Regions from separate parts of the Homo sapiens genome. Here regions 2, 3 and 4 are each linked to region 1. The links are contacts of gene promoters, found by promoter capture Hi-C in blood cells and fetal thymus (Javierre and others, 2016). All regions are on one chromosome and are shown on one strand. The core of a region is centred on a gene start or on the middle of the fragment in contact, and the rest is flanking DNA. Distances in the headings are between cores, read along the strand shown. Region 1 holds the start of SAP25 (Sin3A associated protein 25). Region 2 holds the start of PILRA (paired immunoglobin like type 2 receptor alpha). Region 3 holds the start of POP7 (POP7 ribonuclease P/MRP subunit). Region 4 overlaps PPP1R35-AS1 (PPP1R35 antisense RNA 1).

What was found. The method cuts DNA at HindIII sites, captures the fragments that hold promoters and counts their contacts. A CHiCAGO score of 5 or more calls a contact.
Region 2: a contact is called between a fragment that was not itself captured here and the fragment with the promoter of SAP25 in region 1, in 1 of 17 cell types (endothelial precursors). The highest score is 5.3, in endothelial precursors.
Region 3: the fragment with the promoter of POP7 here is called in contact with the fragment with the promoter of SAP25 in region 1 in 11 of 17 cell types (total CD8 T cells, neutrophils, naive B cells and 8 more); the score reaches 9.3 in total CD8 T cells.
Region 4: a contact is called between a fragment that was not itself captured here and the fragment with the promoter of SAP25 in region 1, in 13 of 17 cell types (erythroblasts, naive CD4 T cells, total CD8 T cells and 10 more). The highest score is 13.0, in erythroblasts.

What each region holds. Positions count from the first base shown.
Region 1 is chr7:100,572,602-100,579,484 of GRCh38, reverse strand. SAP25 (Sin3A associated protein 25) reads left to right here and starts at 5,585. Exons shown (of 6, transcript NM_001348680.2): 1 at 5,585-5,888; 2 at 6,085-6,188; 3 at 6,273-6,379; 4 at 6,472-6,625; 5 at 6,734-6,831. The coding sequence starts at 5,743. It overlaps LRCH4 (leucine rich repeats and calponin homology domain containing 4), which reads left to right. Exons shown (of 18, transcript NM_002319.5): 5 at 699-835; 6 at 974-1,086; 7 at 1,227-1,326; 8 at 1,573-1,663; 9 at 1,745-1,821; 10 at 1,927-1,988; 11 at 2,096-2,212; 12 at 2,331-2,399; 13 at 2,480-2,583; 14 at 2,708-2,791; 15 at 3,162-3,247; 16 at 3,477-3,614; 17 at 3,703-3,780; 18 at 4,181-5,474. The coding sequence ends at 4,378. RefSeq lists enhancers at 3,613-4,166, 4,167-4,721. The HindIII fragment of the contact is 23,848 bases long and covers 1-6,883 here.
Region 2 is chr7:100,366,980-100,373,862 of GRCh38, reverse strand. It overlaps PILRB (paired immunoglobin like type 2 receptor beta), which reads right to left. Exons shown (of 4, transcript NM_178238.4): 4 at 6,032-6,514. The coding sequence ends at 6,486. It overlaps PILRA (paired immunoglobin like type 2 receptor alpha), which reads right to left and starts at 376. Exons shown (of 7, transcript NM_013439.3): 1 at 143-376. The coding sequence starts at 206. STAG3L5P-PVRIG2P-PILRB (STAG3L5P-PVRIG2P-PILRB readthrough) reads right to left here. Exons shown (of 17, transcript NR_036570.1): 17 at 6,032-6,514. RefSeq lists an enhancer at 2,708-3,459. The HindIII fragment of the contact is 1,363 bases long and covers 1,214-2,576 here.
Region 3 is chr7:100,703,468-100,710,350 of GRCh38, reverse strand. It overlaps POP7 (POP7 ribonuclease P/MRP subunit), which reads right to left and starts at 4,230. Exons shown (of 2, transcript NM_005837.3): 1 at 4,047-4,230; 2 at 2,865-3,530. The coding sequence starts at 3,520. The coding sequence ends at 3,098. RefSeq lists an enhancer at 4,622-4,891. The HindIII fragment of the contact is 8,002 bases long and covers 1-6,427 here.
Region 4 is chr7:100,438,448-100,445,330 of GRCh38, reverse strand. PPP1R35-AS1 (PPP1R35 antisense RNA 1) reads right to left here. Exons shown (of 3, transcript NR_187540.1): 2 at 6,829-6,883; 3 at 5,454-5,597. Among named protein-coding and RNA genes, the nearest start is that of PPP1R35-AS1, 5.2 kb to the right of the region's middle. RefSeq lists enhancers at 59-218, 129-813, 814-1,498 and a cis regulatory region at 160-1,013. The HindIII fragment of the contact is 6,057 bases long and covers 988-6,883 here.

The DNA of each region.
Region 1 (6,883 bases), core at 4,336-6,835:
GCTGGGACCACAGGCGTCCGCCACCACACCCGGCTAATTTTTTGTATTTTTAGTAAAGACAGGTTTTCACCATGTTAGCCAGGGTGGTCTCAATCTCTTGACCTTGTGATCCACCCGCCTTGGCCTCCCAAATTGCTGGGATTACAGGCGTGAGCCACCGTGCCGGTCCCAGACTGTGCCTTTTTAAGATGAGCAAAAGGCACCTTTCCCTGTGGGCAGGCAGCATTTCATGCAGGGTGCAGTGCTGGGCCCGTGCTGGGGAAAGGGGACTCCCGGGCGGCCACAATCCGCTCAACATCTGCAGCCCTGGTTGCATGTCACAGGAGGTGTTTGAACAGGGTTTGTGCCTTGTGCTGATCATTTGAAAATGGAGGGTGGGTTCGAGTGTGGAGTGGGCAGGCGAGGAGATGAGGAGGACAGACAGGGCTGGGCGGGACCTGACGTCCGGATGGGCCTTCCCGGGGAAGCTGAGCTGACGTCCAGATGGGCCCTCTCAGGGAGGCTCGCTTAGACCGTGGACCAGAATCATGTGGAGAGAGGAGCAGGGAGGTTTCTCCCGGGGAATGACTTGAGCCACCCAGGGGAGAGGCTGTGCTGGGCCCAGGGTGACTGGCCAGCTGGAGCCAAGGGTGAGGGAGTGAGCACGAGGCCACAGCCCTGAGCATGTTCCTGACTTTTCCCTTGCCCACCTGTTCCAGAGCTGGGGGACCTCCCTCTGGTCCGCCTGGATTTCTCCTGTAACCGCGTCTCCCGAATCCCAGTCTCCTTCTGCCGCCTGAGGCACCTGCAGGTCATTCTGCTGGACAGCAACCCTCTGCAGAGTCCACCTGCCCAGGTGAGGCGGGTGCCTGGGGGGCCACGAGGACAGGGGTGTGGCTAGGCAGGAGTGGGGTTGGTCCCCTTGGATAGCTGAGCAGGATCCGGGGAGCTGCCCTCCCTGCCAACTCCCTGGCGTGTGCTGCCCCGCACACAGGTCTGCCTGAAGGGGAAACTTCACATCTTCAAGTATTTGTCCACAGAGGCCGGGCAGCGTGGGTCGGCCCTGGGGGACCTGGCCCCTTCTCGGCCCCCGAGTTTCAGTCCCTGGTAAGTCCTAGGTGGGGAGGAAGGAAGCCCTGGGATACTGAATGCCCCTTCCCGGCCCCAGGCACCCCCTGCTTTCTGGCAGGAGGATGGGGGGCTGTTGTCCAGCATCAGGCTGACCAGATCCGCCTGGCTGGCCCCAGCCCTGCAGAGGATCTATTTCCGGGACATCGGTACGATGGTGGGCTGGACTCAGGCTTCCACAGCGTTGATAGTGGCAGCAAGAGGTGGTCTGGAAATGAGGTAAGGGCGTCCTGTCCATGGGTGATTGAGGGTGTCAGCCCTGGGAGAGCACCTCTGAACTGGGGACCTCCAAATTGCAGGGTGCCAGGCAGAGGCTGGAGCTGTCCTCTTCCTTCCCTCTGCCCAGCATCCCAGGGAAGGGCTGGCTCAGCAGAGACCCTGAGCTTAGTCCCACACAGGACCCCCCAGGTCCTGAGCCCCCATGTACAGAGAGGCCATCTCCCATCTCTGCCTCTGCCTTTACAGTCAACAGATGAATTTTCAGAGCTGTCATTCCGGATCTCAGAGCTGGCCCGGGAGCCCCGGGGACCCAGAGAACGCAAGGAGGATGGCTCAGGTGAGTAGCAGGGCTGGCCGGGAGCTGGGCTGGACCAGGGCCTGGGTCCCCGCTCACTTGCTGACATGCTGGCCTCCCCAGCGGACGGAGACCCTGTGCAGATTGACTTCATCGACAGCCATGTCCCCGGGGAGGATGAAGAGCGAGGCACTGTGGAGGTGAGAGCCCAGCTATGCCTCTCCCAAGGGAGGGGAGCTGGAGGAGGGGACAGGGCAGGCGTGGGCACAGGCCTGCCCTCAGCTGCTCTGCTGTTCTCTCCTTAGGAGCAGCGACCACCCGAATTAAGCCCTGGGGCAGGGGACAGGGAGAGGGCACCAAGCAGCAGGTACCCCAAGCCCCCAAACTGACGCCACTGCCCGATCCTCCCACCCCCCAACCGCCTCCTTCCCTGACCCCGGGGTCTGCCCCTCTTGCCCTGTCTTGGTCCCTCAGGCGGGAGGAGCCGGCAGGGGAGGAGCGGCGGCGCCCGGACACCTTGCAGCTGTGGCAGGAGCGGGAACGGCGGCAGCAGCAGCAGAGCGGGGCGTGGGGGGCCCCGAGGAAGGATAGGTGGGACCCAGGGCCGCCCGGGGCTGTTGCTGGACACTGAGCCCTGGAAATGGGGCCACCGAGCCCCGCTGAGCCGTTCTGCCTTGGGGCTAGCTGACCCCACCTCTCCTTGTTCCAGCCTCTTGAAGCCAGGGCTCAGGGCTGTTGTGGGAGGGGCCGCCGCCGTGTCCACTCAAGCCATGCACAAGTAGGTTTCCTGCCAGCATCCCCTCCCCACTCCTCTTCCTATGACCATCATCCCTCTAATTCCCTTCTGTCTCTCCTCAGCGGCTCGCCTAAGTCCAGTGCCTCCCAAGCAGGGGCTGCAGCGGGGCAGGGAGCCCCCGCCCCTGCCCCTGCCTCCCAAGAGCCCCTTCCCATAGCTGGACCAGGTGGGACAGGGATTTTGGGAGGAGGATGGGGCCTGTGTTGGTGAGGGCTGGTTGGGAGAGAGGGACACAGAGGGGATGCCTGTCTCACCTGCCCCTGTCGCTGTGTCCCTGGTTCCGGCCCCAGCGACAGCACCTGCTCCACGGCCACTTGGCTCCATTCAGAGACCAAACAGCTTCCTCTTCCGTTCCTCCTCTCAGAGTGGCTCAGGTGGGTGTCCTGCCCTCCCCAGTGCTGACCCAGTGCTTGCCAGCACCAACGGCTACATCACCCTTCTGCCCTGGGAGCCCTCTGGGTCTGTTGTACCTTTTGTACCTTTGCGTTGAAAATCCCACAAGCAAGCCGGGTGTGGTGGCTCACACCTGTAATCGCAGCACTTTAGGAGGCCCAGGTGGGAGGATCGCTTGAGCCCAGGAATTCAAGACCAGCCTGGGCAACATAGCGAGACCCCATCTCCATGAAATAAAAAAAAATCCCACAAGCAGAGAGGCAGGAGGTGTAGGTGCCAGGCCACTGGGACCCAGCTACAGAGTCAGTGGTGAGCAGTGGAGGCAGCCCCATGCCCCCCTTTTTCTCCTAGGCCCTTCCTCACCAGACTCTGTCCTGAGACCTCGGCGGTACCCCCAGGTTCCAGATGAGAAGGACTTAATGACTCAGCTGCGCCAGGTGAGCAGAGGCGGGAGCTGCGTGGGCAGGGGCCTGGGCCGGGCACCTCCTTGTGTTGCTGTCCTTGGGACCAGCCTCCCTCCACATCCTCTGTGCCCACTCTGGCACCTCCCCTGAGGACAGGAAGGGACAGGCACAAGTTCCCTGCTAGCCCTGAGCCCCCCACTCTCCCTGCCTCCCAGACGCCTCTCCTTCCCTGACCCCTGCTCTATGTGGTCTACACTGCCAGGTCCTTGAGTCCCGGCTGCAGCGGCCCCTGCCTGAGGACCTGGCCGAGGCTCTGGCCAGTGGGGTCATCCTGTGCCAGCTGGCCAACCAGCTACGGCCGCGCTCCGTGCCCTTCATCCATGTGCCCTCCCCTGCTGTGGTCAGTTGGGGCTGGGGAAGAGGTGGGGGATGGGCCGGGGCGCCTGTGGCCTCTCCCTTACCACATTTTCTTCTTTCACCCACCCCAGCCAAAACTCAGTGCCCTCAAGGCTCGGAAGAATGTGGAGAGTTTTCTAGAAGCCTGTCGAAAAATGGGGGTGCCTGAGGTATGGGGGCTGCTTTCTAAAGAGTGGTGGCATGCCGGACTCAGCCGAGCATGTGGCATGGATGGTGGGCTTCCATTTGCAGCGGATGTCTGCTCTCAGATGAAGGCACAGGCTGCCCCTGCCCTGCCCAGCATGCCCCCTGCCCTGCATGCCCCCTGCCCTGCATGTCACCTGTCCTACACATCCCCTGCCCTGCAGGCCCCATCTTGTCCTGCATGTCACCTGTCCTGCACATGCCCTGCCCTGCACTCCTCCTGCACTGCACTCCCCCTGCCCAGCACGTCAGCATGTGGGCGTGGTTCTGGCCCCAGCACGTGAGGGCAGGGGTGGGAGGGACTGTCCTGCTGCTGCTGCTGACGTCTGTCCCTTGTCCTTGTCCACCTGCTCTCCTCTCCCCCAGGCTGACCTGTGCTCGCCCTCGGATCTCCTCCAGGGCACTGCCCGGGGGCTGCGGACCGCGCTGGAGGCCGTGAAGCGGGTGGGGGGCAAGGCCCTACCGCCCCTCTGGCCCCCCTCTGGTCTGGGCGGCTTCGTCGTCTTCTACGTGGTCCTCATGCTGCTGCTCTATGTCACCTACACTCGGCTCCTGGGTTCCTAGGCCCCAAAATCGGCCCTCCCTCACCCCTTTCCCTTCCTCTCTATTTATAAGGTCCCTGCTCCACCCGACCCCACCTGCGGTGCCTTCAGCCCCAACCAAAGACACTAGTGCACCCCCTTCACAGACACTGACCTCAGAGGCCCCACTCTGGTGCCCCCAGACCCTGGGCCCCCAGCCTCTGGCCTCCCTCCAGTAGCCCCACGAGTCCCCACCTCTCAGTGCTGACGGTGCCTTCATGTCCCCGCCGGCCCTGCCCCTGCCCTCTGTACCCCGTGAGGGGTGGCAGGAGCTGGAGTCTCCCCCTTCCTCCTGTGCCCTCCCCTTCCCCCCCCAACAGCTGCTATGGGGGGGCTAAATTATCTCTATTTTGTAGAGAGGATCTATATTTGTAGGGGTTCGGGGCCCAGGCCGGGTCCCTATCTCTGTGTATAAACTGTACAGACCGTGGCCGCCCTGCCTGTGTGTGTGTGTGTGCGCGCGCGCGCGCGTCTGCTCCGCGTGTTGGTGGCTGTGGCCATGGCTCTGTGCCCACCAGCATCTCCCTCCTGAGATGCCGGCCTCTCATGCTCCCGGAGCGTCCGCCAACCCCCCGTGTCACCTCCCTTCTGTTATCGCTGACAGCTTTCTTGCGTCTCATTTGTCGCCGAGCCCCGAGCGCACGGTGATGCTCGGGTCTGCCCCCGACCCCCTGCCACAGGCCGGAAGCCGCAGGGGGCACCGTGGGGAAGCTAACCCGGCCCCTTCCCCCAGGAGTCACTGTGCCAGCCCCACCACATCCTGGAAGAGGAGGGGGCCCCGGGAAGGGGCCTCCCCTACATCGCTGCTGTCGTCCACGCCCTGCTGGACCGGCCTTAGGGGTGAAGGTGGGGGCACAGGGCCCACCCCGCCCGGGACCCCGGGAGCAGAAGACGCGCCTGGGCTCCGCGCTCTCAGAGAAGCACGTGGTGAGGGTGGCCTGGGCCTGGGCACCCTTGGCCTGCCGGCCTGGCTGCCTCTGGGGTCGAGGGTCTGGGTGGAAGGACCGCGGGTGTCGCAGGTGTCGTGTCAGCCGCAATAAACAGAAGCCAGAAGCCCTCTGGGTGGCCCTCAGGTGTAACTGTGTCTGAGAGCACGTGCGTCGCGGGGTTGTTGGGGGGGCCTCTGTTTCCGGAATTCACCGCCCAGTCGCCAGGGGGCGCCCGCGGGAGCCCGGCGGGGGCACGCGCCACGTGGCCGGGAGACGCACAGGGCGCCAGCGTCGCCGCGAGGCCTCTGGGGTGGGTTCGCCAGGAGGGCACGTTCGCGCCGCGCCGCGGAGGGAGGCTGAGAGGGCCGGGCCGGGCGGCGGGGACACGGCGGTACCGTCCTGCGCTCGGGAACGCGGAATGTTGCCCTGGTCGCCGCCGCGGTGGGGCGCGGGCCCGGAGGAGGCGCCCGAGGGACCAGGCCTTCCGGCGGGCAAGGACCAGGGCGAGCCCTGGAGCGCCGGAGCGGACGCCCCCAGGGAGCTGGGGACACCCCCATGGGACAGGTGAGGGGCTCGGACGGAGCCGTGGGGGGACAGCGACTGGGGGCCTCCATGCCTTCACCACGCGCTCTACGGAGGCTTCTCCATTGTCCCTGCTGGAGATTGGGTCCCTCGGTCTCCCTTGCACCAGGCACCCTTGGGCTCCAGGGGAGGGTGCGTGGGGGCGGTGTGGCTGCAGCCTCAGTCCCTGCCCCTCCAGCCCACAGCCCCCATCCCGTAGCCCTTCCTGGATCTGGAGAGAGCAGCTGCTGCTGCCCCACCACCTGCCAGGCCCGGCCACTGAGCAGCCCCCCGGAGCCCCAGGTAGGACAGGCCCTGCTGCCTCTACTACCCCTAAGAGCCTCTCACTGACTGTGAGCCTGTTATAATCCCCAAGCGTCCCCCCAGATCCCCGTTCCCCCCAGGTGGCCTGGGAGGTGGCCCCCTCGAGGATGACTCCACTAGCGCCCTGGGACCCCAAGTATGAAGCCAAAGCAGGACCTCGGCCGGTGTGGGTGAGTTGGGGGCAAACCTGTGGGACTGGCTGGGGTGCTCAGGGAGCTGTGCGGTGGCCTGAGGCTCCAGTGCTCTGTCCTCCTCACCCTAGGGGGCCAACTGTAGCTCAGGAGCCTCGTTCTCAGGCCGGACGCTGTGTCACCCCTCATTCTGGCCGCTGTATGAAGCAGCCTCGGGCAGGGGTCTCAGGCCCGTGGCCCCTGCCACAGGGCACTGGAATGGACAGCAGGCGCCCCCAGATGCAGGTACCTCCCTTGGTCCCCCGGGGGCGCAAGGCTGCCCCAACTCCTCTGGGAACCAGTGCCCAGGGGTGGGAGCCCGCAGCCCGCCACCCTAGTGGTGTTTCCTCCTAGGGTTCCCGGTGGTGTGCTGTGAAGATGTCTTCCTCTCGGACCCTCTGCTGCCCCGGGGGCAGCGTGTTCCCCTGTACCTGTCCAAGGCCCCCCAGCAGGTGAGAGCTCTTTCCCCTCCCTGTCCTTACCCCAGCCTCCAGGCTTGCCTGG
Region 2 (6,883 bases), core at 646-3,145, 200 kb after region 1:
GGGTCACCCGCCCCTGTGGGACCCGCCCTTGTTTCCTGGTGGTGGGAGCCTGGGCCCTCCCCAAGATGTCCCACCTTTGTCTCGGGTTGGCCCCTCCTGTGGTTTGGGCAGAGCCCACATCTGGGTGGTCCTGGGTACTCACTAGGCTGCAGAAATGCTGGCGGCAGCAGCAAGGGCAGTAGGGGCAGCAGCAGGGGCCGACCCATGGCCTTGTTCTTCTCCAGGGGACGGGGAGACCAGCAGAGCCGTCCAGGCAGGAGAGGGGCCCTGTGGAGGGGCCGCCTGGGGGTTGAGGTGAGTGAGGAGAGCCGGGCTCAGGCTCCGAAGAGGGCTGTGGGGGCCAGGAGCCTTCCCCAAACCAGTGCACCTCCAGGGTGACCAGCACTTCCTTTATCCATCTGGCTTATTTTCCCCTATTGCAAAAGGGCCTCCCTTGTGGTCAGTGCCAAGTCAGCCCTGCCCAAAGGCCGCGGTCCCCGTCCTCCTGCCGAGGGGCTGGGCCTGACCTTGGGGGGCTGGGCCTGACCTTGGCTGGCTGGGCCCCTCCCACCTGGATCCCTGCAGACCCCACCTCACTCAGCCTCACTTCTCATCCTTCTCTCTGCCCAGGGCCAGCGCAGGCTCTTTCAGGGAGAGGAAAGGCAGGCCTGAATCTCTGTCCTTCTGCGCCCCAGATTCAGTCCTCAGAGAGGAGGAGAAGGAAGCCGGTGGAGGTCACAGGTGCTCAGCCCCCAGCCCAAGCAGAAGAGCCCCCAGCTTGTCCTCTGTCCCTCTCCCTCCCTGGCAGGGGCTCCCATGCAGTCCCCAGGCACCACCACGACCCAGCTGGCCTCTTCCTGCCCCAGGCCCTCTCTCGGTGCAGGCACCACGACCTTGCTCAAGGGGTGAGGGGGCTAATGGTCCCCTACACAGAGACTGGTCCTTCTGGAAGCCACCCCTTGACCCCCAAGACATGAGACTGGGTCTGCAGGCTCCCCTCTGACGTCCCGCCCTACACAGGAGGGGACAGGGCTCTGAGAAGCCCTGCCCCAGGCCACGTGACTTGCAGTAGTGGGTACAGGACTGGAGCCCCCTCAACCCAGATGTCTGGGCCTGGCTGAAGGGTGGAATCTCTGGGCCTCAACTTCTGAGTGCAGGACAGGAGGCTGTCCCTTCATACAGCCCCTCAGGTCATTCCCTCCACACACCTGAGCCCTTGGCTGATCCAGAAGCTTCCTTGGACACAGAAGAAAGTGAAGGCTCAGAGCAACACCCACCCCACACACAGTCCTGGGCCCATCTCTAACGGGGATCTGCCGGCCTTTGCCCGGGGGTGGTCACTGGAGCAGGGAGCTTTGGTGGTGCACAGGGCTCCCTCCGTAGGAGGCTCTGCCCACCCTCTCCAGGGTGAGGTGGCATCAGTTGAGGGGCCGTGGGGGAAGACAGGATTTCATCAGAGGAAGTGACATCAGCCTTCTTGAGACAGAAGCAGGCAGGGACGGGCCTCCCTTCTCTTAGTCTCTTCCCTGGTCCTAGTAGGCTCCTCTGTGCTTCCCAGGGCCAGCCAGGCCGGCCCGCCCTCCCTCCCTTTACAGGCCTGAGGAAACAGGTTCCCCATGCTCAGGAAACCCCTCCGTCTGAGCCAGGCCCTAAACACCTCATTCTCTGCTTCACAACATTCTGAGGTGACACATTATCTCCATTCAACCCACAGGGAAACTGAGGGACGGGGGCTTTGGGCTGAACTGGTCACAGCTGGAAAGATGGGCTGCAGAGAGGACAAGGGACCCCCTGGCTGTCTGGGCAGGGCCTCGAGAGGGTGGCCCGCCCCACCTGAGGACCTGGCTGAAAGGTCACCTGCTTACCAGGCTGTCCAATGTGGGGGCCACATAGAACTTATAGCCAACAGCCTCTGGGTAGCTCTGGAGGGCACATGCTGCCCAATGCTGCCACGTGCAGTCTCCTTAGATGCAACATGCATGTTTATGTCACTTTCAGGCCCTGGATCCAGCTGAACCCCCATGGGAGATTCCTTCTGTGTCAGGATTTCTGCTCTGGGATGGTGTGAGGTCTCCTGGATTTGTTCATCCTCCCTCCCCCAACAGCAGTGACAGAACCTGGGACTGAGCCTGGGGCTGTGGCTCTCTCACAGACAGGGCTTCTGAGAGGAGGAGGAGGGCCTGGAGGAGGGCATGATTCCAATGTGGGCAGAGCCTAAATGCAGCCCCTTAGTGCAGGTGCTCATGGGAGAGGCGTGGGAAGTCGTGTGTGGGGAGCAGGGGCAGGGAGGGGGTAAGTACCCTGCACCGCATTATGAGAACCACTGCTTGGATGTCCCCACATTCCCCCAACAAGTATCCTACTGTCCTCACTGGCCACATCCGTCCCTGCCCCCAGCCCCTCACCTCTCCTTGGCACCCACCGTTCCTGCTTTCCTCTGATCCCAATCGACATCCCATAGGCTTTGTGGAGTTCACAAGCCAACTGTAATATTCTCACAGTAATTCAAAGGACCTAGAATAGCCAAAAGGCCTTTACAAATGAAGAATGAAGGTGGAAGATTTATAATACCTGACTTCAAGACTTGCTGTAAAGCTTCTGTAATCAGGCTGTACTGTCCTCAAGGTACTAGAGTGTCCACAGACTGGAGTGTAGGGACGCGATCACCATCACTCCTGGGCTGAAGCAATTTGCTGACCTCAGCCTCCCAAGTAGTGAAGACCACAGGCACACACCACCACACACGGCTAATTTTTTTTTTTTTTTGAGAGATGGGGTCTCACTATGTTGTCTAGGCTGGTCTCAAGTTCCTGGGCTTAAGCAATCCTCCTGCCTCGGCCTCCCTCAGTGCTGGGATGACAGGTGTGAGCCACCTCACCAAGCCCCACTGGATTGCTGATATTCTGGCATCTTGGACCTCCAAGAGCAGAGAGAGGGACTGCCCCTGCCAGAGCCAGCCAGTTGTTAGAGCTAGCAAATGACCCCTCTGAGAGTGTCCCTTTTTTTTTCTGAAACAGTCTCACTCTGCTGCCAGGCTGGAGTGCAGTGGCACGGTCTCGGCTCACTGCAACCTCCACCCCTGGGTTCAAGCGATTCTCCTGCCTCAGCCTCCCAAGTTGCTGGGATTACAAGTGCGTGCCACCATGCCCAACTAATTTTTGTATTTTTAATAGAGACGGGGTTTCACCACGTTGGCCAAGATGGTCTCCATCTCCTGACCTTGTGATCTGCCCACCTCGGCCTCCCAAAGTGCTGGGATTACAGGCTTGAGCCACGGCTCCTGGCTGAGTGTGCCTTTCATATGCAAACCAGCTAATCCAGGGCCCCAACACTGAACCAGCTCTTCTAGCTGCCTCTCACCCTTCAGAAGGCAGTATTTCTCTGCCTTCATCATCCTGGGCCAGACACCAAATAACAAATGACAGCCTCTAATCCCCAGAGCCTGCTAACGTTATTCTAACTAGCCAATCCTAAACCTGCATACCCTTCCTTGCCTTTTCCAGGGAAAGCATAACAAAGGGTCTCACCCCTGTGTTCCCTTGGCTTCCTCTACTCCCTGAGGGACCCTGGTGCTTTCCCAAGTGGCCCTGCATGGCTGTGTCTCTCGTTTCTGGGGATCTGTGAGGATACACTGCTTCCCTTATGACCCTCATTTCCATGGCCATACCTGATGGAAAGAAATGGCAGGTGCATTTTGTTTTATTATTATTATTATTTTGAGACGGAGTCTCACTCTGTCGCCCAGGCTGCAGTGCAGTGGCACCATCTCGGCTCACTGCAACCTCTGCCTCCCAGGTTCAAGCGATTCTCCTGCCTCAGCCTCCCGAGTAACTGGGACTACAGGTGCCCACCACTATGCTCACCTAATTTTTGTAGTTTTAGCAGAGATGGGGTTTCACCATGTTGGCCAGGCTGGTCTTGAACTCCTTACCTCAGGTGATCCACCTGCCTAGGCCTCCCAAAGTTGCTGAGATTACAGGCATGAACCACCGCGCCCTGCCAGCAGGTGCATTTGATTTATTTTTATTTTTTGAGACGGAGTCTCGCTCTGTCACCCAGGCTGGAGTGCAATGGTACAATCTCGGCTCACTGCAACTTCCACTTCCTGAGTTCAAGTGATTCTCCTGCCTCAGCCTCCTGAGTAGCTGGGATTACAGGCACGTGCCACCATGCCCGCCCGGCTACTTTTTGTATTTTTAGTAGAGATGGAGCTTTGCTATGTTGTTCAGGCTGGTCTCGACCTCCTGACCTTGTGATCTGCCTGCCTCAGCCTCCCAAAGTGCTGGGATTACAGGTGTGAGACACTGTGCCTGGCCCAGCAGGCGCATTTTAAAAGAGCTTTTAACTCTCTGGACAATCCCAGGAGGTAGGCAGCATCTCTGTATGGTCCTCAATTTATACAGAAAGAAACGGAGGCCCTGAGGGTGGTTCTGAGCCTAGCCTGAGGTCACATGGCCCAGGAACGTCCACTGTGGCATCAGGTCTGAGCTTGGGGCCTGTGCGGCCAACCACTTCCCCATTCAGTGACATCAGCCAGCAGTCCTCTGGGCCTCTGTGACAACCATGCTTCCCTTTTCTGTGTTGTCTTCCTTCTGCACAGGGAGGTGCTTGAGGGCTGGGGCACTGGCTGGTGTAGCTTTGGGTCCTTGTCACCCAGTGCAGTGTGCCTGTCACCCAGGGCAGTTAGTGCTGACCAAATGCGTATGGAGAGGGTGGAGGCATCTTCAAGGGGTGGGGATCAGGTGACGATCATTTTCAGTAGAGATGGGGTTTCACCGTATTGGCCAGGTTTTTTGTTTTGTCTTTTTTTTTTGAGACAGGCTCTCTCTCTGTCACCCAGGCTGGAGTACAGTGGTGCAATCACAACTCACTGCAGCCTCAGTTGCCACCTGAGGGCTCAATTGATTCTCCCACCTCAGCCTCAAAATGTGCTGGGATTACAGTCATGAGCCACTGTGCCTGGCCCAATCATGCCTTTATAATGAAGCCCATAAAAACCCAAAAGGGATGCAGAGGGCTTCTGGATAACTGAACTCATGGAGCTTCCTAGAGGGTGCAGTGCCTAGAGAAGACACGGAAGCTTTGCACCCCTTCCCCCAGGCCTCCCTCTGTGTATCTCTTATATCTGGCTGTTCATAACTATCCTTTGTAATATCCTATATCTTTATTTTGAGACGGGGTCTCGCTATGTTGCCCAGGTTGGTCTCAAACTCCTGTGCTCAAGTGAACCTCCCCCCTCAACCTCCTGAAGCACAGAGATTACAGGCATGAGCCATGGCGCCAGGCCCTATAATATCCTTTATAAGGGGACACATGTAAGTAAAGGGCTTCCCTGAGTTCTAGGTACCATTCTAGAAAATTAATTGAACCCAAGGAGGGGATCATGGGAACCTCAATTTTTATAGCCCTGTGTCAGAAGCACAGGCACCACGTGAGCTTGCGACTGGCATCTGATGCTGGGGCAGCCTTGTGGAACTGAGCCCTCAACCCGTGCGATCACAGGAAGCAGCCAATTTGCTGTAGTAGCCGTGGCCAACACACTGTCTCTGACAGTGTTCTTGCCCCTGCCCACTCCTTCTTAACGATTCCCTCTCAGCCAGGCATGGTGGCTCACGCCTGTAATTGCAGCTATTTGGGAGACTGAGGCTGGAGGATTGCTTGAGCCCAGGAGTTTGAGACCAGCCTGGACAACTTGGTGAAACTCCAGTACCACTAAAAAATACAAACATTAGCTGAGTGTGGGGGTGCACGCCTGTAATCCCAACTACTTGGGAGGCTGAGGCATGAGAATGGCTTGAACCCAGGAGGCAGAGGTTGCAGTGAGCAGAGATTGCGCCACTGCACTCCAGCCTGGGTGATGAGAGTGAGGCTCTGTCTCAAAAAAAAAAAAAAAAAAAAAAAAAGATTTCCCTTCTTAAACTTGCTTCCAACTGCTTTAAATCTGTGAGTGCCATCTGTTTCTAGTGGGGAGGCTCCCTGCATCATGACTGGACTCAGGTACTGCAGAGCAGGAAGGGGCACTTGGCAGCCATGTGGGAGATGCACAGGGAAGTGTCAGCAGCATTTCACGCTATTTATTCCCCAAAACCTTCTGCCATAGAAGACAGCCACCATACAGATTGGAAAATGTGGACGAGGAGAAAAGGGGTGTATGGTAAGCAAAATAAATTGTATTTTTCCATCCTTGGGGAGGATAAAGGAACTCTTTGCACTGCTATAATAAACAGCCCCCAAATGCCAGTGGTTTAATTCAGTGGAGTTCAGACCTCATTCCTATATCATTGCAGTGTGGATGCTCCTGGATGAAGGCTCTTGTAGGTAACTCTCCTCCAGTCGGTGATTCAGGGACCCAGCCTCCTTCTGCCTTGCGGCTTTGCCTTTTAAAGGTCCTCAGGGTGCTCTCCATGTATCTTGCCAATGGGGAACGAGTGTGGAGGACTCACAAGCGGGTCTCACATCACGTCCTCCGGGGCTAATACACATCCCTTCTCCCCACACTCTGTTGGTCAGAAGTCACTGCTTGGCGCCCTGCTACCTGCAGGAGGGGAAGTGTTTTTAGATGCAGGGCCAGGATTATTAGTGAGGCAGGCGAGGCAGTTGCTTCAGAGATCAGATTTAAGTGGGAGGTGGCAAAAACTCAGGAGAATTTGTGGCAGGCTGGGCTTGTGGGGTTCTTAGCAGCACAGTCCCTGATTTCCAAACCCGTCCCCTGCCCGCACCTGTACTCCCCACTCCCTTGGGGAGGCCCAGCACTCAGCTGGCTGGGGTTGTGGCTTTAGTCCGCTGCTGACGTGTAGGGGGACCAACAGTGAGTCAGGGTGGCATCCAGGTGATAGCAGTCTCCATCCCACCTTCTCTGCTGCGCCCTAGGCTGAGGCCCTCCTTAGAGGGACCAGAGCAGCAG
Region 3 (6,883 bases), core at 2,981-5,480, 130 kb before region 1:
GGCTCTTAAACTCTTATGACCTCAAACGGTAAAAAACACAATGTACATCCTATTATAGTACATATATATATATATATATATATACACACATGCCTAACTGAAAAATTTGCTGGCCAGGCCTAGTGGCTCACACCTGTAATCCCGGCATTTTGGGAGGCTGAGGTGGGTGGATCACCTGAGGTCAGGAGTTTGAAATCAGCCTGGACAACATGGCGAAACCCCATCTCTACTAAAAATACAAAAATTAGCCAGGCGTGGTGGCACACGCCTATAATTCCAGCTACTCAGGAGGCTGAGACAGGAGAATCGCTTGAACCTGGGAGGCAGAGGTTGCAGTGAGCCAAGATTGTGCTACTGAACTCCAGCCTAGGAGATAGAGACTCTGCCTCAAAAAAAACAAAAACATCTGCAATAAAAACACCACCATTTAAGTTGCACTTTTTTTAAAACTTGGGTTCTTTTTTCTTTTTCTTTTCTTTTTTTAGACAAGGTCTTGCTCTGTCGCCCAGGCTGGAGTGCACTGGCGTGATCTCAGCTCACTGCAACCTCCCCCTCCTGGGCTCAGGTCATCCTCCCACCTCAGCCTCCCAAGTAGCTGGGACCACAGTTTTGTGCCACCATGCCCAGATAACTTTTTATATTTTTTGTAGAGATGGGATTTCGCCATGTTGCCTAGGCTGGTCTCGAACTCCTGCGCTCAAGAGACTGACCTGCCTCGGCCTCCCAAAGTGCTGGGATTATAGGCGTGAGCCACCACACCCAGCCTTATTTTTTTTGTTGTTGTTTTTGTTTTTTGAGACGGACTCGCTCTGTCGCCCAGGCTGGAGTGCAGTGGCACAATCTCGGCTCTCTGCAACCTCCGCCTCCCTGGTTCAAGCGATTCTCCTGCCTCAGCCTCTAGAGTAGCTGGAACTACAGGCATGTGCCACCACGCCTGGCTAATTTTTTGTATTTTTAGTAGAGACAGGGTTTCACCATGTTAGCCAGGATGGTCTTGATCTCTGGACCTCGTGATCTGCCCGCCTCAGCCTCCCAAAGTGCTGGGATTACAGGCGTGAGCCACCGCGCCTGGCTTTTTCTTTTTTTAAGAAGCTGTGACCCACAAATGGGTCACAACCCGCTTTGATAAACATTGCTTTAGTTGACTTTAGTTTGATAAATATGAAAAATCAGGTCATCCCACAAATATCCAAACAGAAAGTATTACCTGTGTGCCCAGTAATTATTTGGAGTGAGGGGTTCCTTCGCCACTGGAGCAGCCCAGTGAGAAGGGTCTGAAGGCCGGGCGCAGTGGCTCATGCCTGTAATCCCAGCACTTTGGGTGGCCAAGGCAGGCAGAACGCTTCAGGTCAGAAGTTTGAGACCAGCCTGGCTGACATGGTGAAACCCCTTCTCTACTAAAAATACAAAAAATTGCAGGGCATGGTGATGGATGCCTATAGTCCCGGCTACTCAGGAGGCTGAGGCAGAAGAATCCCTTGAACCCAGGAGGCAGAGGTTGCAGTGAGCTGAGATCGCACCACTGCACTCCAGCCTGGATGACAGAGTGAAGCTGTCTCAAAAAAAAAAAAAAAAAAAAAAAAGGGTCTGAAGGGCTCTGCACCTGAAAGCCCGGGTATCATCTAGGTAGGCCCTGCAGGTCCAGGAATTAAATGAAGCCACTTGTCAGTCCCTACCATGGAGCCTGACACTAAGAAGGTCCTGAAGTCTTAGTTTGCTTCCTTTTTTTTTTTTTTTTTTTTTTTGAGATACGGTCTTGCTGTGTCAGCAAGGCTGGAGGAGTGTAGTGCGGTGATCACAGCTCACTGCAGCCTTGAACTCCTGGGCTCAAGCGATCCTCCTGCCTCAGCTAACGAGGTAGCTGGGATTATAGGTGCAAACCACTACACCCATCTAGTTTTCAAAAATTTTTTGCATTTGGGAGGCCAAGGCGGGCAGATCACTTGAGGTCAGGAGTTCGAGAACAGCCTGGCCAACATGGTGTTTCCACTAAAAAAATACAAAAATAATTAGCTGGGCGTGGTGGCACTCACCTGTAATTCCAGCTACTGGGGAGGATGAAGCAGGAGAATCACTTGAACCCAGGAGCCGAACGTTGCAGTGAGCCAAGATGGCACCACTGTACTCCAGCCTGGGTGACAGAGCAAGACTTCATCTCAGAAAAAAAAAAAAAGTGGTTTTTTTGCATAGACTAGGTCTCAGTATGTCATCTAGATTGGAGTGCAGGTGGCATGATCATAACTCACTGCACCTTCAAACTCCCAGGCTCAAGCACTCTTTCCGCCTCAGCCTCCGCCAGTAGCTCAGACTACAGGCTGGAGCCACTGCACCCAACTAGAAGACGAAAATCTTTAAAACAAACATTGGGGCTGGGCACGGTGGCTCACGCCTGTAATCCTAGCACTTTGGGAGGCCGAGATGGGTGGATCACAAGGTCAGGAGATCGAGAACATCCCTGCTAACACGCTGAAACCCTGTCTCTACTAAAAATACAAAAAAATTAGCCAGGGTGTGGTGGCAGGCACCTGTAGTCCCAGCTACTCAGGAGGCTGAGGCAGGAGAATGGCGTGAACTCAGGAGGTGGAGCTTGCAGTGAGCCAAGATTGCACCACTGCACTCCAGCCTGGGTGACAGAGTGAGACTCTGTCTCAAAAAACAAACAAACAAACAAACATTGGGATGACTGGGTTTCTGCACTGTACTGTTTTGTTACACTGCTCATAGCATAATCTATGCTCTCTATAGAGGCAAGAAACACTTGGGTTCCCCTTTCACCTAGATACCTGTAGCGTTTCCTACCATCCCTATTCAGGCACACACAGAATTTACACAGGAAAGAATCAGTGGCAGTGGGATGGCAGGACACTAGTGCAACAGGATTTTTTATTTATATGGCAATAGTTACAGACCGCATACACACACTCAGGAAGGCCCACTAACTGGGCCCACCAAGAGACAATTACCCCCACCCTCAATGCAGAGTCCTTTGGGCTTCCAGGGAACAGGCCTTTTCTTACATGGCTCTGGTCCGAGGTCCAGTACTCAGCATGCGAAGAGCCATATCACGGAGGGGATAAGTGGAGGAGTGTCTTTTCAATTACTTGGGTGTGACCCTGAAGACTCGGATGTGGATGGCTGAGTTGTTGCGGATCCGAGTCAGTGGCTCCCGTGTGTCGGTCTCTGGCTCCAGCTCATCAACAAGCTCCACGGTGGAGGTATTGGCAGCCACCTGCAAGGACCCGAAGCTGCCCGCCTGCAGCTGCAGCGCGATGTTGATGGCGCGGTTGATGGCCAGGCCCAAGCCGTGAATGTAGATCTCAGAGCACGCGTTCTGACCCCGGGCCCCTCCGTCCAGCAGCTTCTGGCAGCGGGCCAGCTGGGCCTTAAAGTCCGTCTTCATGTTGACATAAATGTCATTGGGTCTCCGGGGCAGGCGGCTGGGAAGCCTTTTCCTAAGGGTGTATTCCACTGGATCCAGTTCAGCCTCCACAGCACCGCGGGGCTCTCGGTTTTCTGCCATGCTGTGTGCCCTGGCGTGGGAAAGGGACGCGATCAGAGGGCTCAGAGGGACCTCGAAGCCTTTCCTACCCCTTTTCCTGTACAAAGGGTGCACCTGGCCGGGCAGTGGCTCACGCCTGTAACCTCAGCACTTTGGAAGGTCGAGGCGGGAGGATCACTGGAGCCCGGGTGTTTGAGATCAGCCTGGGCAACATAGCAAGACCCTGTCTTAAGAAAAATTTTTTTAATTACCCGGGCCGAGGGGGGAGGATCGCTTGAGATCGGGAGTTCGAGGCTACAGTGAGCCGTGATCGCGCCCGCCACTGCACTCTAGCTTGGGAAACAGAGCAAGCCTCTGTCTCAAACAAAAACAAAAACAAAAATAAAGGGTGCACCCGAGAAGGGACACACTCGATGTCCCTGTTTCCTTCCGGCCCCTCGTCCTCTCCCACTCACCTCCAGATCCCGCGTCTCCCCACCCCCCGTTCCGATTCATTCATCGCGTCGCCCTCAAACTCGCGCCCCTCCGCCGCCCCTCCCGTGCTTACTCTCTTCGTTCCACAGGGCCCTCCAGGCGCGCGAGGCCCGCTCCCCGCCAGGCCACTCAAGGGTTCGCCGGCCAGCCCAAGTAACCGCGACCCCAGGTCCCAGAGAAAGAAGGATGTGGGTGCAAGCAGCCAGCCAGCTCGTGGGCGCCCTGCCCGCGCCGGGGTCCTGAACGGGCTGCGGAGTGCGCACGCGCGCCCGTACCCCGCGAGCTATGAATCGCCTTCCCGGCTTCCGTTCGCCCCGCCCCTTCCCTGAGCGCAAGGGCGACTGCGCGAGGCGTTTGAGAAACGCGAGACTTCCGGGCGTGACGGGATCTACACGTGTACGCCTCGGGAACTGGCGGGCGGCCGAGGGCGGGAACCAGGTCCGAGCCGGGGAGGAGCTAGAAAGGGCCGGGTCGGCGTCTCTAGGCCTGGCGGAGTTCCCGGCCGGCGGAGGGGTAGCGTAGGGAAGACACCTGGAGGGGAGGCTGTTCTAGGGGCAGGGTTCTTCCCCATGGGAGCAGGGAAGGGGCCGAGTTCAGGAGACCGCGGTCGCCAAGGGGCCTGAACTCCGCGTCCGTCGCAGCTCCTCTGGTCAGAAGAGGCCTGGGCAGGGCTGGCAGAACTGACCCCCTAGTCTAATGTCCCTGTGGCCCGAGGACCGAGGGGGAACTGAGGGACATAGCCGGTCCCCACCTCGCTGGAGGACAGCGTCCCGGGACTCCCCTGCAGTTCACGGGAAGCTGTCCGCCTCCTGTCTGTGCTGGGGACCCACGCTGTGAGCCCTAAGCCCAGGCTTCACGGGTCCCCAAGGAACGCTGACCCACCCACGCCCCTCAACCATCTCCCACCAGCTCTGCAGCAGGCGACCCCGGATCAGGGACTTGCCGCCCCCTGGCGGGCAAGGTGGGGAGGACGCGCGCCGGATTCGTGGCTCTCAGGCCAGTGGAGTGGGGGCTCTGCCCAGATGGGCATAGTTTCTGCAGAGTTCCCTTCTGAAATGAGTAGGACCTGCTGCACTGGGGACCTTGAACTACTCTGTTTGCCCAGCATTCAAATGGGGATGTTCACAACAGCTCCACCATATTGCACATGCATTTTATTGAATGGCTAGCTGTATAGCTTCTGTCTACAAACTTGCATGCATTTATTTTTGAGACAGGGTCTCTGTGGCCCAGGCTGGACTGCAGTGGTGTGATCTCAGCTCACTACAACCTCTGCCTACCGGGTTCAAACGATTCTTGTGCCTCAGCCTCTTGAGTAGCTGGAATTACAGGCGCACGCCACCGCACCCGGCCAGTTTATTTCATTTTTTTGAGACAGGGCCTTACTCTGTCACCCAGGCTGGAGTGCAGTGGCGTTAACACGGCTCACTGCAGCCCTGAACTCCTGGGCTCAAGCAATTCTCCCGCCCCAGCCACCTGAACAGCTTGGACTACGGGCATGCACTAGCATATAAAGTTGTATTTTAGAAGTTAATCCTTGGTATTGAAATTTTCGATATGTTGGCCGGGCGCGGTGGCTCACGCCTGTAATCCCAGCACTTTGGGAGGCTGAGACGAGCGGATCACGAGGTCAGGAGATCGAGACCATCCTGGCTAACACGGTGAAACCCCGCCTCTACTAAAAATACAAAAAATTAGCCGGGCATGGTGGCAGGCGCCTGTAGTCCCAGCTACTCGGGAGGCTGAGGCAGGAGAATGGCGTGAACCCACGAGGCGGAGCTTGCAGAGAGCCAAGATCGCGCCACTGCACTCCAGCCTGGGGGACAGAGCCAGACTCCATCTCAAAAAAAAAAAAAAAGAAATTTTCGAAATGTTCACATAATTGTTGGGAGCGATTCATTCCTCCTCACATGATGTGCCTCCTCTCTCCCATATCCTGTTAATTGTAGCAGTTGCGGGCATTTGCGATGACAGGATATACGGATGGTGCCACACTTGACCTTGAGTACTGGAATGCTCTGAGGTCAAGCATATGCCACAGTGCTTGAGACTGTGGGCATCACCTGTAGTGTCTTTTTCTCCAACTCCTGTCTCCTTGGTCCTAGGGAGGTCTGGCTCTAATTGCTAGTTTCCAGAGATTCATTCCTTTTTTTTTTTTTGAGACGGAGTCTCGCTCCGTTGCCCAGGCTGGAGTGCAGAGGCACGATCTCAGCTTACCGCAACCTCTGCCTCTGAGGTTAAAGCGATTCTCCTGCCTCAGCCTCCTGAGTAGCTGGGATTACAGGTGTGCACCACCACGCCCGGCTAATTTTTGTATTTTCAGTAGAGATGGGGTTTCACCATGTTGGCCAGGCTGGTCTCAAACTCCTGATCTCAAGTGATCCTCCTACCTTGGCCTCCTAAAGTGCTGGGATGACAGGCTTGAGCTATTGTGCCCAGCCTCATTTTTAAGCTTTGGATCACAGGAAGAAGCAACAAGAAACTATACCCAACTCAAAACATTTTAGGAGAATCATAAAATTGGTCCATTTAGAAGGTAGAGTTGGGTCCATTAAGTTATTGTTGCAAGAGGTTGCATATTCAATGATCAGTTATATAAAATAATGTTCTCGTTAGTATGCTTTTCATAATCTGTTTTATCATACATGTAACATTCAAACTGACAAATACACTGACTTGGGAATAAAGGATATGAAAACACTGGTTTAAAAAAAATGGGGATGCTAATTCCTTTCTTGCAGTTGAGTTGTGAAACCCAAGGTAATGTTGTAAACTGTAAACCTACACAGGTGAGTTGGCATATTTATGTCTCCCAGGCCCTTCTCAGTTCCCTAGGATGGAGTCTGACCCCATTTGATCAAAGGTTGAAGAGAGTTCAGATTCTAGAGAAATTTGCTCCCAGCACCCCAT
Region 4 (6,883 bases), core at 2,767-5,266, 130 kb after region 1:
GCTGAGATTGTGCCACTGCACTCCAGCACTCTAGCCTGGGAGACACAGTGAGACTCTGTCTCAAAAAAAAAGAAAGGGCAGTCTCAGACTCCCAGAGAGGAGAACAGCAAGTTTCTGTTCCACCTACTTCCTTCAAGGGCTTCTTCCTCCAGGAAGCCTTCCCATCCTCCAGGCTGAGCTGACCTACCCTTCACAGAGCTGGGGCTGGTGTTTAATCTGCACAGGCTGCATGAAGTTTTGCATCCTCTTTCCTGGAGCCTGGCCTGGCCTGGATGTTAGAGTTCATGCTGCACCCTGGGAGGGTGAAAGCTGGCCCCACTCAGAGCTGTCCATGCCACTCCCAGGCCCCAGCAAATAGCAGGTGTCAGTGAGCGGGTGAGAGGCATGTCTTCTGCCTCCTGGGACTCTGAGCTTCCTAGAACTGGGGCCACATTTCCTGCCTTATCTGTTTTCTCCACTGAGCAGGGCTGGGGCTGGAGGGGGCACGTGTGGGGCCAGCCAGCAGGAGCCCGAGGCGAGAGGGTCTGAACCCCCTGCCTCAGAGCCTACCGGCAGAGAGACCAGGGGCCTTTCATTTCCCAGCATCCCCGACATCCTGCTCATCTGCTGCAGAAACAATGAACACGGGAAAAGGGCAGGATGTCCCAGAGGTCGTCCAGAGGAGGAGAGGACAGGCTGAGTCAAAGGTGGGGAGGGAGGAAGGACAGAGGTCAATGGCACACGTGCCATGATCTCATCAGCTCCTGAAAAACAATGACTCGACCTTCTGAGGGCCCCAACTGAGCTCTGGCAACCATATGAGGCCAGTCATTTCCTCAGTGTTCAGATGAGGAAGAGGGGGGCTCTCAGAGGAAAGGGAATGATCCCCAGGTCACATGGTCAGTAGGCACTGGAGCTGGGACTGAAACCCAGGGAGACAGACGAGAGACGGGCCAGGGCTGCGAGGAGGCAGAGAGGCAAGGGCTTCGGCCTCCCCATTTCCAAGCTTGCATTCCCAGGAGTCCATTCATATGTGAAAAAAATGGCTTTTTATTTATTTATTTGTTTAGAGACAGTCTCGCTTTTTGCCCGGGCTGGAGTGCCGTGGTGTGATCATAACTCACTGTAGCCTTGACCTGGGCTCAAGTGATCCTCCCACCTCAGCCTCCTGAGTAGCTGGGACTATAAGTGTGCACCATCACACCCAGATAATTTTTTAAATTTTTGGTAGAGATGGGGTCTTTCTATGTTGCCCAGCCTGGTCTCCAACTTCTGGGCTCAAGTGATCCTCCCGCCTTGGCCTTCCAAAGTACTGAGATTACAAGCATGAGCCATTGCGCCTGGCTTATTTATTTATTTTTAGAGACAGGGTCTCGCTCTGTCACCCAGACTGGAGTGAAGTGGCACAATCATAGCTCAGCGCAGCCTCAAATTCCTGGGCTCAAGGGACCCTCCTGCCTCAGCCAACAAAGTAGCTGGAACTACAGGCATACACCACCATGCCTGGCTAAATTTTTTTAGAAATGGGGTCTTGACCAGCCCAGGCTGGTCTTGAACTCCTGGGCTCAAGTGATCCTCCGGTCTCAGCCTCCTGAGTAGCTGGGACTACAGGTGCACACCACCACACCCGGCTAATTTTTTTGTGTTTTTATTGTAGAGACAGGGTTTCACCATCTTGCCCAGGCTGCTCTCGAATGCCTGTCCTCATGTGATGCTCCCACCTGGGCCTCCCAAAGGGCTGAGATTACAGGTGTGAGCCACTGCACCCGGCCTGATAGCAGAACCTGCTTTTCTTCTACCAGCCTCTCTTGGACTGTGGAAAAACCTCACACCAACATCTCCTTGTCCAATCGCCTCTCTTGGACTGTGGAAAAACCTCACACCAACATCTCCTTGTCCAATCCAGAGGCTTCCATGGAATCACTCTCCACCCCAAGACCCCCCAACATCTCCTGTGTGCTCATTGAGTAACAGACCATCTGCTGCTTCCCCCGTCCCCAACCATCTCCCCAAGGTCCTGGGCATTGGTCCCCTGCTAAGGGGATCTGTCGGGACCTGCCTCCCAGAGTGAGGGTGGCGATTTCTGCATACATTTCCCCTATCTGTGGCTCCCTTTTCCTGGGTTATGGGCCCATCTTCCGTGCCTCCACACCCTTTCTTTCTACCTCCAGCTGTCCCTGGGCTCTTTGGGACCCTAACCACTGGCATCAATCAACCTTCTATGCCCAGTGTGGACATCAAGGACATCTCCCCAGCAAGCTCAGGCCTTCAGCCCAACATTCTCCTCCTTGCTGTGCTCAGCTCCATTGAATTCTCCATCCTCCACCCCACCCTGCAAATCTGTTTATCTTTGCTTTTCTGGTTTCTTTCATTTTCCTCTGCCTCACCCAGATTCCAGACAAATTCTTATTTATTTATTTATTTATTTGAGATACAGTTGCTGGCGGCTCACTGTAACCTCTGCCTCCCAGGTTCAAGTGATTCTCATGCCTCAGCCTCCGGAGTAGCTGGGATTTGCAGGCATGTGCCAGCACACGCAGCTAAAATTTTTTTTTTTTTTTTTTGAAATGGAGTCTCGCTTTGCTCGCTTTGTTGCCCAGGCTGGTGTGCAGTGGCATGATCTGGGCTCACTGCAACCTCCACCTCCTGGGTTCAAGCAATCCTCCCACCTCAGCCTCCCAAGTAACTGGGATTACAGGCCTGGGCTACCACATACGGGTAATTTTTATATTTTTAGTAGAGACGGGGTTTCAGCATGTTGGCCAGGCTGGTCTTGAACTCCTGACCTCAAGTGATCCATCTGCTTGGGCCTCCCAAAGTGCTGGGATTATAGGCGTGAGCCACAACACCCAGCTTGGATTATGGACAAATTCTTTTGAATGAGACTCTGTCCCCTGCCTCCAACTTTTCTGCATCCCAGCAGCTGGCATCATCCCATGTCCCAGAGACTTCACACATACCTAATGGGGCTCATCTCAACCCTCCTGTTCCTCAGCCTGATGCTGGGGAGGCCAGGCTCAGGGTCAGTGTGTTGGCCTGCAGCCCGATGTGTGCCCTCCTCCCTGGATCTCTTCCTTCTGGGTTGGGACGAAGGCGTGAAGGTGGTTTGGAGTCATGAGTTCAGGCTGAGACACCTCAGACCTACCTGACCTGCTGGGGGATTCACCCTGCCAGCCTCCGAGATGCAGTAGGATGAGAACACGCACTCTGGGGATAGGAGCCTGGATGTGTGTGTGTCTGGAGGTTGGCCATTCCCATCTTCCAGCGTGTCTCGTGTGACAGGGACCAGTGTGGAAGTGTCTCTGGGTTGGCCCTTAGGCATAGGCCAGTTTGAGAATAGGAGACAGGAGGTGAGAGGTCGCCATAGGTGGGGTTTGCAGAGGGTGGTATTAGAGCTTTGCTGTCTCTCTGATCTTTCTTGGCCCTATTTGGGGGTGACTTCCAGGATGACGCCCTTGCTCCTCCCCCACCCCCAACCCTGGCAGGTCTTCCCATGTGTCCTCTGTAGCAGTCTCAGCCACACCGTGCAGTGGACCACTGCATTGGAGGCATCCTACCTCTTCTTAAGGACATGGTCCCTTCAAGGACCCTGGATGCTGACCTGTCTCCTGTCCCACCTAGCCCACCTATAGCACCTGGCTCAGCAGAAGCTCATGGATGACCTTGAATGACCCCTTCCAGCACTGAGACTTGCTTTCTTCAAACTAGCATCCAGGTCTAGGATTACCCCACTCAGCAGCCTCAGATAACTAAAGGAGCATCTCTAACTGGTGAGGTCTAACCCAATCAAAAGTCTTTTTTTTTTTTTTTTTGAGACGGAGTCTCGCTCTGTTGCCCAGGCTGGAGTGCAGTGGTGCGATCTCGGCTCACTGCAAGCTCCGACTCCCAGGTTCACGCCATACTCCTGCCTCAGCCTACTGAGTAGCTGGGACTAGAGGCGCATGCCACCACACCCGGCTAATTTTTTGTATTTTTAGTAGAGACAGGGTTTCACCGTGTTAGCCAGGATGGTGTTAATCTCCTGACCTCGTGATCCGCCCGCCTCGGCCTCCCAAAGTGCTGGGATTACAGGCGTGAGCCACAGCACCCAGCCCAAAAGCCTTATAATAAATAATATTTAAGAGATGGGTGTTGCTCTGTCGCCAAGGCTGGAGTGCAGTGGCGTGATCATAGCTCACTGCAGCCTCGAAGTCCTGGGCTCAAGGGATCCTCCCACCTCAACCTCCCCGGTACCTGGGACTACAGGAATACACCACCACGCCTGGCTAATTTTTAATTTTTTTATAGAGACTGGGTCTCACTATGTTGCCCAGGCTGGTCTTGAACTCCTGGCCTCACAGGGATCCTCCTGCCTCTGCCTCCCAAAGTGCTGGAATTACAGGCATGAGTCACGGTGTCCCAGCCATTTTTTTTTTTTTTTTTTTTTTTTGAGACAGAGTCTCACGCTGTTGCCCAGGCTGGAGTGCAGTGGTGCCATCTTGGCTCACTGCAACCTCCCCCTCTCAGGTTCAAGTGATTCTCATGCCTCAGCCTCCCGAGTAGCTGAAATTACAGGCATGTGCTGCCATGCCCAGGTAATTTTTTGTAGTTTTAGTAGAGAAAGGGTTTCACTGTGTTGCCCAGGTTGGTCTCGAACTCCTGGCCTCAAGTGATCTGCCTGCCTTGGCCTCCCAAAATGCTGGAATTATAGGCATGAACCACCATGCCCTGTCCTCCTCCCCATTTTTTTTTTTTTTTTTTTTGAGACCGAGTCTCGCTCTGTCACCCAGGCTGGAGGGCAGCAGCACAATCTCAGCTTACTGCAACCTCTGCCTCCCCGGTTCAAGCAATTCTTCTGCCTCAGCCTCCTGAGTAGCTGGGACTACAGATGAGTGCTACCACGCCCAGCTAATTTTTTGTCCCCTTTTCTTTTGAAGAGGAAAAGCAATTCCTGGCCTCCCAGCCTGGGCCAGCCAAAATAGCTTAGGAAGAATGTGGGCAGGCCCAAGACCTCTCACCTCCCTCACCTCCACCTTCCGATCTTCACACTCGTACTGTTTTTTTTTTTTTAATTATTATTATTATTATTATTATTTTGAGACAGAGTTTTGCTCTTGTTGCCCAGGCTGGAATGTAATGGCACGATCTCTGGCTCACTGCAACCTCCGCCTCCCAGCTTCAGGCAATTCTGCCTCAGCCTCCTGAGTAGCTGGGATTACAAGCATGCACCACCACACCCGGCTAATTTTGTATTTTTAGTAGAAATGGGGTTTCTCCATGTTGGTCAGGCTGATCTCAAACTCCCAACCTCAGGTGATCTGCCTGCCTCGGCCTCCCAAAGTGCTGGGATTACAGGCGTGAGCCACCGCGCCAGGCCCTGTTTTCTTAAAATCATTGGTGAACATTCCACTTCTTGGAGACCCGCAATGTAAACTGGGCAAACAGAATGGCTTGTTTTCGTCTGTGCTGGGGCCTGAAATGAGTCAGTGACTAGATTTTAAGGCTGAGGAATTGCGTTTACTGGGTTCATGGACACGAACTCCTGTAGGGCCTAGATATTTATCAGCATGGCCAAGGCCTGGGGGACAGTTTCGAGTCTCAGCTCCAACACTTCCTGCATGCCAAAACTGCGTCAGCCTCTTTTTTTAAATAAACAAAAAACGTTTAGTCACAGAAATGTTCAAGAATATGCAAAAGTAGAGAAAATATAGTAATAAAATCCTGCTTCAGCAGTCATCAACATTTGGCTAATCTTGTTTTATCCATGTACCCTCAAATACTGTTCCGAACCCCAACTTTTTTTTTTCTTGTGACAGGGTCTCACTCTGTCATCCAGGCTGGAGTGCAGTGGCGAGATCCTGGCTCACTGCAACCGCCGCCTCCTGGGTTCAAGTGATTCTCATGCCTCAGCCTCCTGAGTAGCTGGGACTATGGGACTACAGGCACGTGCTACCATGCCTGGCTAATTTTTTGTACTTTTTAGTAGAGACGAGGTTTTGCCATGTTGCCCAGGCTGGTCTTGAACTCCTGAGCTCAGGCAACTTGCCTGCCTCGGCTTCCTAAAGTGCTGGGATTACAGGCTTGAGCCACTGTGCTCAGTCTTGATACTTTTCAATTTAAGGTAAAATACAGCATGATTTATTAGTTTTTTTTGTTTGTTTGTTTTTTGTTTTTTGAGACAGAGAGTCTAGCTCTGTCACCCAGGCTGGAGTGCAGTGGCACAATCTTGGCTCACTGCAACCTCCACCTCCTGAGTTCCAGTGACTGGCCTACTCAGTCTCCCAAGTAGTTGGGACTACAGGCACCTGTCACCACACCCGGCTAATTTTTTTGTATTTGTATTTTATTTTACTATTACTTTTTGAGGCAGAGTCTTGCTCTGTTACACAGGCTGGAGTCCAGTTGCACGATCTCAGCTCACTGCAACATACGCCTCCTGGGTTCAAGCGATTCTTGTGCCTCAGCTTCCCAAGTAGCTGGGATTACAGGTGTGCACCACCACGCCTGGCTAATTTTTATATTTTTAGTAGAAACGGGGTTTCACCATGCTGGCCAGGCTGGTCTCGAACTCCTGACCTCAAGTGATCCACCCACCCGGGCTTCCCAAAGTGCTGGGATTACAGGTGTAAGCCACTGTGCCTGGCCTGATTTTTTAAAACCTTTTAATATAATCATATAAAATGCATACATTTCCAAAGTCAAATATACAAAACAAAGTATATTTGGAGGAATAAGACTGTTTGTCTTTCATTCTATTCTCTCCCTCCTATGTCGCTATTAAAAATTTTTAATTTATACTCCCAGTTTAAAAATTTATATTTGTACCTCGCTATTTCTTTTCACAATTGAACAATGAGATAATAGACATACTTGCTTGTTCTTAACTTTAGCAGGAAAGCCTCTAGTGTTCCACCATTGAGATCTT